Regions from separate parts of the Homo sapiens genome. Here region 1 is linked to region 2. Evidence: promoter capture Hi-C in 16 types of primary human blood cells and fetal thymus (Javierre and others, 2016). All regions are on one chromosome and are shown on one strand. The core of a region is centred on a gene start or on the middle of the fragment in contact, and the rest is flanking DNA. Distances in the headings are between cores, read along the strand shown.

Region 1 (3,972 bases), core at 821-3,320, 470 kb after region 2:
CTTGCTCACCAAGCAGTCAGGGCACCATGCCAGGAACTGACCTTTTTTTGTATAAAAGGAAACAGAGAAAAGTTCTCAACAGAATGTAGTCAGATTTTTATATTGTGGGAAAAAGAACAAAAGGCTCCTTGAAGACTCGCCTATCACAGCCACAAATCAATTAAAGCCCCACGCAGTCAGACCTCCGCCGAGCCAGTGTTCCCATACGAATGTAGGCTTGCCTTTGCTTCTTGCTATATTGGGGGTCAGGGCGGGGGGTCGGGGGGAACACACACACATGCACGCACGTGTACACAAGCACGGTCATACACACATGCATGCACACACAAGAACACATTTGTTTTAGATGCCGGAACAATCTGTTCATACGTGTTTAATGCTCAAGCAGAGGCCACAAGTCTGTGGAACCCACATAATAATGGTAATTATAAGTCTGCAGGTTGCTTTTGCATAAAAAATACTCATTCCATGCTGAGATGTTTCTGCTTGCTACAAGAATGGTACACCCAGTCGTGACTTGGAAAACAAAGCAAAGCAAAAACCGAAAGCCCATAGCTCCAAATGCCACATGGAACTCGTGAACAGCTATGTTCCATCACTTCTGAAAGAATACTTAGGCCTATTCTGAGAATTCCCATGACCGATTTTATGGATTTTGTGTGAGGCGTTTTTTTTCCCTGGAAGTCAAGGCCTCATTCAATGAAGTCTGTCATAAACTCCAGTACACTGGGTGTGTTGTGTGAGCTCCTCTGACCACAATACAAGACCGTGAGAAACTGCACCATCGGGCTCTTCCACGGGGAGCGGCAGCGCTCCAGCAGGGCAGGCCTCACTCTCCCCACCTCGCCCCTCAGCCGGCCCAGCCTGCCGGGTCTGATGGTGTCTACGGGAGCCCAAGGCCATTCTGCCATCTAACTGGGTCTGCAAAAATGTCAGGGTTTAGGAGGCTATGCCTTTATATCTGTTTTTTCTCTTGACCCACAACCGACTTTCTGCCCTTGTCCAATAATCCCTAAGATGGGGTCTATCTTCCTTTATGTCTGGCCCAGACTGTCTTTCCCTTCAGAGGCCGTCCATGCTCATGGGCTTCCACTTGAACACCGATAACTAACTTTAAACATGTCCTAAGTTTTTCAGGAGAAAGATAAAAGCTTTCTTTTCTTTTTAAAGTATTTTTTATCCTGCATTATAAAGACATATATGCTTACTATGGAAAATTTGAAAAGAGAAAAAGAAGAACCATTAAAATGATCTATAACTCTACCATCCAAAAAGACTCACTGTTAATAATTCGGTTTATATACTTCTTGTCTTTTTTCTACGCACTGAGACCATACCACTCACTACACATAATGCCTTGTATCTTTCATTTTTCTCTCCATAATGTACTATAAGCAGTTCAGTTCACTGTATCTATAGAACATGCTCTTCAAGACCTTTTTTTTTTTTTGGAGACAGAGCCTTGCTCTGTCACCCAGGCTGGAATGCAGTGGTGCAATCTCTACTCACTGCAACCTCTGCCTCCTGAGCTCAAGCGATCCTTCCATCTATCTCAGCCTCCCGAGTAGCTGGGACTACAGGCACACATTACCATACCTGGCTAATTTCTTTATTTATTTTTTTGTAGAGACAGGGGTCTATGTTGCCCAGGCTGGTCTCAAACTCATGGATTCAAGTGATACGGCCACCTCGGCCTTCCAAAGTGCTGAGATTACAGGCATGAACCACCACACCCGTCCAAGAGCATGATTTTTCATGGTATGTAACAGAATGCTATTCCATGGTTAGGATATACCACACTTTATTTGGCCAGTAGCCTTACTATTGAAAGTTCAGGCCATTTCCCATTGTTGTATTTATGAACAATGCTGTGCTGAATATTCTTATACATAAGCCTTTGCATGGATCTCTATTCCCCAGGGTAATTCCTAGAAGTGGAACCACAGGGTTAAAGGGTATGAACCCTTGCCTGATTTTTTTTTTTCCTTTTTTTCTCTAGGCATCATTGTACCTTACTGATTCTTAAGGGTATCTAAACGACTTTTTTTTATTTTGTTGTGATCTGATTCAGTTGTTGGCAAAAGGAGATGAACTCTGGCTGCTGGTGGAAAGGGTGGCTTGCCCATGAGTGGGACAGGCCTTCTCACAGGCAGGACACATCCTGGGCGGGGACACGCTTGGTCTTTGCACCCATGTTCTTCACCTCAAGGACATCCACAGAGGCAGTGACGCCAGGCCCAGCACACGATGCGGGGATACGCCACCAGCTGATTTAATTGTGCCTTTTTAAGTAAATGCACAAATGCAGAGATACTGCTAATTTCAATTCAATCACATACGAATCATGCTTTCTAACACAGTTCACAGTTTGTCTCTCAAGCCTCCCAACAGACCATCAAGGGATTAAAGCTCACAAAACCCAGGAAAACAAGAGGTACGTATCATTCATTAAACTAAAATCCCCTTCCCAGGACGCCACATACACCAATGCCTCAGGCAGGCACCAGCAAGGAAGGGGCTCTGGAGTCACCAACATGAGCACTGGATTGAACTGCCAGGCAGATGGGCACCTGTGACAGAATGGGGGGAAGGGAAATGGATGCCTGCCACTGCCCCACTCACATTGAGCCAATACGTTCTCATCCAAAATCCTAGGCATCCCCTGAGGGAGAACTACGCAAGGGTTTTATTTTTTCATAAAAAAGGACCAAGTTAGCTAGTAGAAGATGTGCCAATGTAGAACTTTCTAGAAATTAAGTGTTATTGAATAATTTATTTCTTTATACTTCAAAAGTGATTCTCTGTCAGTAACCTTTTGACTGTGATGGAATTGAACACATATCTACCAACTTAGCTTATTCAGAATCAAATAAGACAGAATATAAAAGGGCTTTAAAAACCATATGTGCCCCGTACATCTTATTACTGTTAAAAACATCAACCAGGATTTTCCTTAGCTTAACGTGATCTTTTAAAGGGGAAGAAATAAAAAGCTTTCTTTTTAATCAGACAGCAATCCTCAAATACATACGTGGGTTATAATTTTTTCACAAAGCTTTATTTCTGATCCAAAATAAATTATCACCAAATTTCAACTTTTTAAAATCTAAAACTATTTTTCTTTCCTATGCCATGCAAGCCTTTAAACAAAATACGCAGACATCTTTATTAGTCTGTGTGTTTTCAAACAACAGAAAATGCCAAAGCCAAGAGAAGCAGGGCTCTATACAAAATGAGCCTTGTCCTCTTTAACTACTAAGATCAGCATAGAGCACTGGCAGTTGAAGTTTTAAGAACCTAGCAAATCAATGCTTGCAAGGGAGGTGCCAATGCCTTTAATCAAAGCATTGCTTCCTGTAATTATTATATTCCACATAAAATAACAACTGTCTTTGCCACAGACAGTTATCCAGTCCCATACTTAGCTGCTCTGTTATTTAGGAAATGACCAACTTCTTTTTCAGAAGCAAAGTGGTTAATATCATCTGATTACTTTAGTAAGAGATGTAAATAAAGCCAGTAATGTGAGGATCTGTTGACTGATCCAAGAAAGGAGACAGTCAAGATGGAAGCAAGCCCTGGCCGGGCTGCTGGGGAGCGAGACAGGGCCCTGGCTGTGGCCAGGCTCTGCTGCCGGCACACCCCTCAGAACAGCCCGCCTCTGCAGGGCACGCCTTGGAGGACGCGACCCTGGGGCAGATATGGCAGCTGAGCAATAACAGATCAAATGACCTTGGGGAAGAAGGGTCTTCGTTTTGCAGGAGAATGGGCTGGCAGCGTCTCGTCTCTGGCCACCTCGGTGGGGACAGGAGAACGCCTCTGACCACAAGGCTGGAGATCACCATGCCTGCAGGTTGCCATGACATATGCCATCTGTGGGCAGAGCTCAGGTGTCATGGAAGCCAAGCCCACAACAGAGCCCCTCTCTGCAAGCTCCTCTCAGCCCCCCAGAGCCCACCCCAAACACATGCA
Region 2 (6,069 bases), core at 2,964-5,463:
GTTGAGTCTCTTTCAGTCTAAAACTCAATGATTCCATGAACATTTTAACAGGAGCAATGAAAGTGACTACAATAGCAACTTTAGGTTACACCAGGCTCTGTGCTTAAACTCCTGATGTTTCCATAATGATCCTGGGTGAGCTCCCTAAACTGGCTCCAGTGAGGTTCCTGCAAATCTGCAATCACCCCGTCCCTCTGGGTACATGCTCTTCTAGGTCCGGTCTTCAGCACTAACAAGATCTTTGCAGGAATGCTGGTTTTTCTTTCTGGATTTCAATGCCTGGAATGAATGTAGGTTGGGGGCCTGGCTTGAGAATCATGCTACCTGCCTGATGACATGTGATACTGAAAATGGCCAAACGCTGAACTTCCCACAAGATCACCTCAGTGTCCAGCATCTAGTCCTGTCAGCTACCCCAACAACCAGGCATGCACACCAGTTCCAAGGGTACAGCACTGTAATACCCAAAGGCTAGTAAAAACCAAAGTGCCCCAAAATAGAGAAAAACTTCAATACCTCATGATGTGTGCAGGGGAGCAGCACACAGCAGTTAAAAGGAGGTAGATGTAGATGTCCCGATATTAATGGATGTTTCTTGAATAATGTTAAATAACAAAGCAAACTACAGAAATGTGTATTGTGATCCCATTTTGTCTGCTATTATAGGCATATGTAAATATGTGTTCATGTGTAAACTTATATGACTGTAAAAGAGTATCCGGAAAAATAAGCAGTAAATTATTTGCAGTGGATACCCCATGGGATATATATGGGGTGGGTTTCACTCTTCCCTTGAATTCTTTTGAATGGTTTAAATTTTTGTCAATGAGTGCAACATAGTATTTCTTTAAAACCTGGTATTCACAACTATCTAGTATAAAAGTACACATATTGGCCAGGCACAGTGGCTCATACCTGTAATCCCAGCATTTTGGGAGGCCAAGGTGGGCAGATCGCTTGAGCCCAGGAATTTGAGACCAGCCTGGGCAACATAACAAAACCCCATCTCTACAAAAACACAAAAATTATCCGGCATGGTGGCACATGCCTGTAGTCCCAGCTACAGGGGAGGCTGAGGTGGGAGCACCAATTCAGCCTGGGAGGTTGAGGCTGCAGTGAGCCATTATCACACCACTGCACTCCAGCCTGGGCAACAGAGTGCGACTCTATCTCAAAATAAATAAATAAATAAAACGCATACCTTACGTAGCCAAAATTAACATGCTTCATCCAGGCCCCACCATCAAAATCTCACTATCCAAGGTCCCACTGTCTAAGGTTACTTAGACAGTGGGACACCTCAAAACACATCTTACATTTCTCAGTCTCTCTAGGGGTGTGAAAGGTACTGACACATTTTTTAAACAATATCAGACATGACAAGCCCTTTTTTTTCTTTTTTTGAGACAGAGTCTTACTCGGTCGCCAGGCTGGAGTAGAGTGGCACGATCTGGGCTCACTGCAACCTCCGCCTCCCGGGTTCAAGCAATTCTCCTGCCTCAGCCTCCCAAGTAGCTGGGATTACAGGCGCCTGCCACCATGCCTGGCTAATTTTTGTGTTTTTAGTAGAGACAGGGTTTCACCATGTTGGCCAGGCTGGTCTCAAACACCTGGACTTTGAGTGATCTACCCGTCTCAGCCTCCCAAAGTGCTGGGATTACAGGTGTGAGCCACCACACCCAGTCGACAAGCCCTCTTTTTAAAATATATCCCTGGTCCTCAAAGGCAGTTAAAGCTGTGAGCCACCTATACTAGCTGTAAATTAAAGCTTAAGATTTCACCTGGGTATGTTTCTAAAATAAGAATCCTTAGGAATGTATTATTAAGAGGGGCCAGAGGCAACAGTAATGGAGTCATCACCTTCCTTAACATGTCTGCTTAATATTCAAAAATAAATGTGATCATACCACTCCTTTACATGAATTACCTCCACCAGTCCATACTGTGGGACCAAAGCCAGACAGCCTGCCAGTAAGAAAAGGAATCTAGATTGCAGGATGCGGGGCGGAGAAGAGTTTTTAAGAATGGAGAAATGCATTCCAAACCCAAGTAGCAGGGTTGTATTTGTTCAGGTCAGCTCTGAGCATCATGCGTCTTTTTTTTTTTTTTTTAAGACAAAGTCACGCTCTTGTCGCGCAGGCTGGAGTGCAATGATGCGATCTCGGCTCACTGCAACCTCTGCCTCCTGGGTTCAAGCAATTCTCCTTCCTCAGCCTCCCGAGTAGCTGGGATTACAGGCGCCTGCCACCACACCCAGCTAATTTTTGGTAGAGACGGGGTTTCACCATGTTGATCAGGTTGGTCTTGAACTCCTGACCTCAGGCAATCCACCTGTTTCGGCCTCCCAAAGTGCTGGGATGACAGGCTAGAGCCTACGCGCCCAGCCCATCATGTGTCATTTTTATAGTGTGCATAAGTGCGGGGAATGTTAGTAAAGTGTATGGACAATCTGAAAACCCAGTTACACTTCAGTTAAAAGTGTGGATCAGTTAGCTAGAAAATACCTGCGCACGGCGGCTCATGCCTGTAATCCCAGCACTTTGGGAGGCCAAGGCATCACCGGAGGTCGGGAGTTCGAGACCAGCCTGACCAACATGGAGAAACCCCGTTTCTACTAAAAAAAATTACAAAATTAGCTGGGCATGGTGGCACATGCCTGTAATCCCAGCTACTCGGGAGACTGAGGCAGGAGAATCGCTTGAACCTGGGAGGCAGAGGTTGCGGTGAGCCAAGATCGCACCATTGCACTCCAGCCTGGGCAACAAGAGCAAAATTCCATCTCAAAAAAAAAAAAAAAAAGAAAAGAAAAAGAAAATACCTGTGCACACCAACACAAACGAAAGGATGTTGTGTGACTTACAAAAAACCTCACAAGAAGGGGTCCTTTGAGTCTCCACTCCACTTGACCCCTTGCTACTCACAATGTGATGAGTAGACAAACAGTATCTGATGGGCAGCACCCACCACAGGAGAACTTCTTAGAAATGCAGAATCTCAGGACCTGTCCCAGAGCTATGGAAGGAGGGCACACATCTTACCAAGATCCCCAAATGATTCCTGTGCCCAGTGACGTTCGAGATGCACTCCATAGCGCATTCAGAACCATTCTACAAACCACTTTTGAGCTTTCCACTAATTGGGCAGAGGCTGCACACACCATCATTGCAAATCGATAGGGGTTTTGAAGCCCTGGGTGTTTCCTGTTTCTGGCACAGCATGGCAACTGTCCCAGCAAGGGGCAGCCCACGGGAGCTCCTTTGCACACAAGCCCTGCTGCTCCTAAAGGCTCTGGACACACAGGAGACCTCCCAGCCTGCTTGCGGGGGGGGCGGGGGGGACACTCGCTCCTAACAGGTCTTGTTTCAGGTCAGAGATAACTGGATTAGAAACCTGACTTGGGTCCCTAATTGCAGAAAGAGTGAAGGAGGACAAAGAAGAAATGGGGAAGGAAGGCACCTGAGCTAGCACTTTCCTGTCTGAGGCTAGGGCGGGTATGACGGGCAGGCCAGGTGCCCACACTTGGCCGGCTGAGAGGGGTACGAGGCAGGCTGCTCAGGGCAGAGAAGAGGAATGCAAGATGGAATCAGGTGTACACCTGTGAGACGGACCCCCAGGTGGGCCCCTCCAAGGTCAAGGGAGGAGATGAGGACTTGAGTGAGGCTGAGCCAGCTTCTGGAGAGAGGGGCTACCAGACAGAGAGCGAGAGAGGCGCTCAGACATCAGACGGACAGACAGAGGCTGACGGCAGGAGGCTCAGAGGGCCCAACGTCAGCCCGCCGGGCAGGCTCCCCAGGCAGACAGACAGGACGGGGCCCACCGCCCAAGGCCCGACTCACAGGTGCGCGATGCCCGCCTTGCGCACCGCCGAAGAGATGGCTTTGACTGCTGTGCAGAGCGAGTTGAGCAGCTGGGTCAACTCGCCCGTGCCGCGGGCCTTCCTGCCCTCCTCCATGACGAAGCGGGTCAGGGTGTTGACGTCCGTGTCGAAGGGCGCCTGGTCAGCCATGCTTGAACCGGGTAGAGCGCGGGGCTGCAGGTGCAAGCGGCAGGTGCGGGGCTGCAGGTGCGGGCGGCAAGAGAGGGCAGTAGGCACTGGCCGCAGGTGCGGAGCTGCAGGTGCGGGCGGCAGGTGCGGGCCGCGGGACCTGGCGGGAGGACTGACAGACCGACTGCCGCCCCGAGTGTCCGCAGCGCTCGTGGTGCAACTGGGCCAGGCCAGGCGCCGGCGGGTGAATCGCGGAAACCTTTAGACGCGGGTCGGCCCCCCGCCCCCGGGAACACTCTTGCGCCCCGCCTACCCCGCGGACCAGACCGCGGCTCCGCCTGCTTGGATCTTCAGACAAGGTCGGGGATCCTCCCTGCGGTCTCCCAACCCCCGCCCCCACGCGCCCTGCCGCCCCCTAGTCTTCCTGGGCTGTCGCCCCCCACACACACCCCTCCGTGCCCTCCACCCGCACTGTGGAGCGGGACTCGGGCCATCGGACTCTGCCAGAGAGAAAGCTATGACTGTTTCCTCCAAAATCATAAAACGGAAGTTCAGAAAGGTTAAGTAACTTGCTCAATGCCACCAGCTAGGCAGCGAAACCCGCAGCCAGTCCACATGGCCTGGCTTTAGCTCTGCAGCTCCTGCCCCGTGTGGCTGCCTGCCCCCGCCCCCTGCCCAAGCCCCGTCCACTCTGCCTGGCCTGTCACCTGGCCCTTCTGTCCCCGCTAGGAGACACAGAGTCCCCGTTTCTCACCCATCTGAGGGCCCACGTCTGAATCCTTAATCCAGGCCTCTTCTCAAGATTCCTAGAATTCGAGAGCTATTGAGTATTTGAATTTCCAAGATGTGAGTCTCGCCCGGAAGTTTCCCGGAAAACGGTCGCTGACACAGAGTCCTCGGCTACCACACAAAGGCCAGAGGGCTCCACCGCCCGCATCCTGACCCCCTGGTAGCCACAATGCTGCAATTGATGTGCTGATTCACGAAACAACACCTATTGAGCACCTGCTGTGCTGAACACTGTCCTACCTTCCAGGGGTGGAGCCTGATCCAAACAGACAAAACTCCTGCCCTTTTCGAGTGTACGTTTTCACAGAGAAACAGTAAAAATAAATATATAAACAATAGATTAGTTTGTTACATAAGCCATAAGTACCATAGAGAGAAACGAAATAGAAAAGGAAGACACGGAATGTGGAGGGGAGAAGAGGGTGAGCAGAGGCCTCAGTAAAAGCTTCTCTGAGAAAGGGATATGTGAGCAAAGAGGTGAAGGATGCAACGCGCCGGTGGAGATGGGAAGGAGAGCGGTTTCCTCACCGGGAGAGCCAGTGCACAGGCCCTGGGGTAGGAGACCATGTTTCAGGTTCAGGGAATGGCCAGGAGACCGGTGGAGCTGAAATAGAGCTAGCAAGGGTCAGAGGTGGAGGAGATAAGGCCAGCGGGAGGATGCAGAGGTGAGGTCTAGAGGGCCAAGTGAGGTTTGACTTTGACTAGGAGGAACCCACTGGAGAGTTTGGAGAAGAAGAGAGGCATGGTCTACCCTGTGTCTTCATACTGCGGCTACTGTGTGAAGATCAGACTGAAGACAGTGCCCTCCAGGTTACTAGGAGATAGTGAGCCAGGTGTTAGCAGTGGAGGTGGTGGATTCTGGACATATTTTGAAGGTAGAGCTGATGGGATTCGTTGACAGATGAGATATGTGAGAGACAGGAGTCTCGGATGATTCTAAGGTTTGAGGCCTGAGAAACTAGAAGAATGCAGTTGTCCTCGACTGCGATGGGGAACACCGAGAGGGGCGTGTGCTGGAGGCAGGACTGACAATTAGGAGCTAAGTGTGGGACCTGCTAAGTTTGAAATGCCTTCTAGACATCCAAGGCAATGTCAAATAGACAGATTTATGTATCTGGAGTTCAGAGGAGAGATCCATGCTGCAGGTATAAATTGGAAAAGCCAACTGGAAAAACCAACCAAAAACCAAGAGATGTGACATCCGGGAAGCCAGATGAAGAAGGTAAGTAAAGGCGGGCTGACCCATGTGCCAAGCGGTGTGGATGGGGCAGGCAGGACAAGCTCTGAAAATTGAC

The links. Contacts are between HindIII fragments. The CHiCAGO score rates a contact against its expected background, and 5 or more counts as called.
Region 1: a fragment that was not itself captured here is called in contact with the fragment with the promoter of FBP1 in region 2 in 4 of 17 cell types (megakaryocytes, naive CD4 T cells, endothelial precursors and 1 more); the score reaches 6.6 in megakaryocytes.

The regions. Positions count from the first base shown.
Region 1 is chr9:95,107,473-95,111,444 of GRCh38, forward strand. All of the region lies in intron 13 of FANCC (FA complementation group C), which reads right to left. It overlaps LOC107987102 (a long non-coding RNA gene), which reads left to right. Exons shown (of 2, transcript XR_001746847.2): 2 at 1-1,274. It also overlaps a transcript of AOPEP not described here. Among named protein-coding and RNA genes, the nearest start is that of MIR3074, 23 kb to the left of the region's middle. The HindIII fragment of the contact is 1,842 bases long and covers 1,150-2,991 here.
Region 2 is chr9:94,635,305-94,641,373 of GRCh38, forward strand. It overlaps FBP1 (fructose-bisphosphatase 1), which reads right to left and starts at 4,214. Exons shown (of 7, transcript NM_000507.4): 1 at 3,837-4,214. The coding sequence starts at 4,006. RefSeq lists a silencer at 4,288-4,347. The HindIII fragment of the contact is 3,451 bases long and covers 1,767-5,217 here.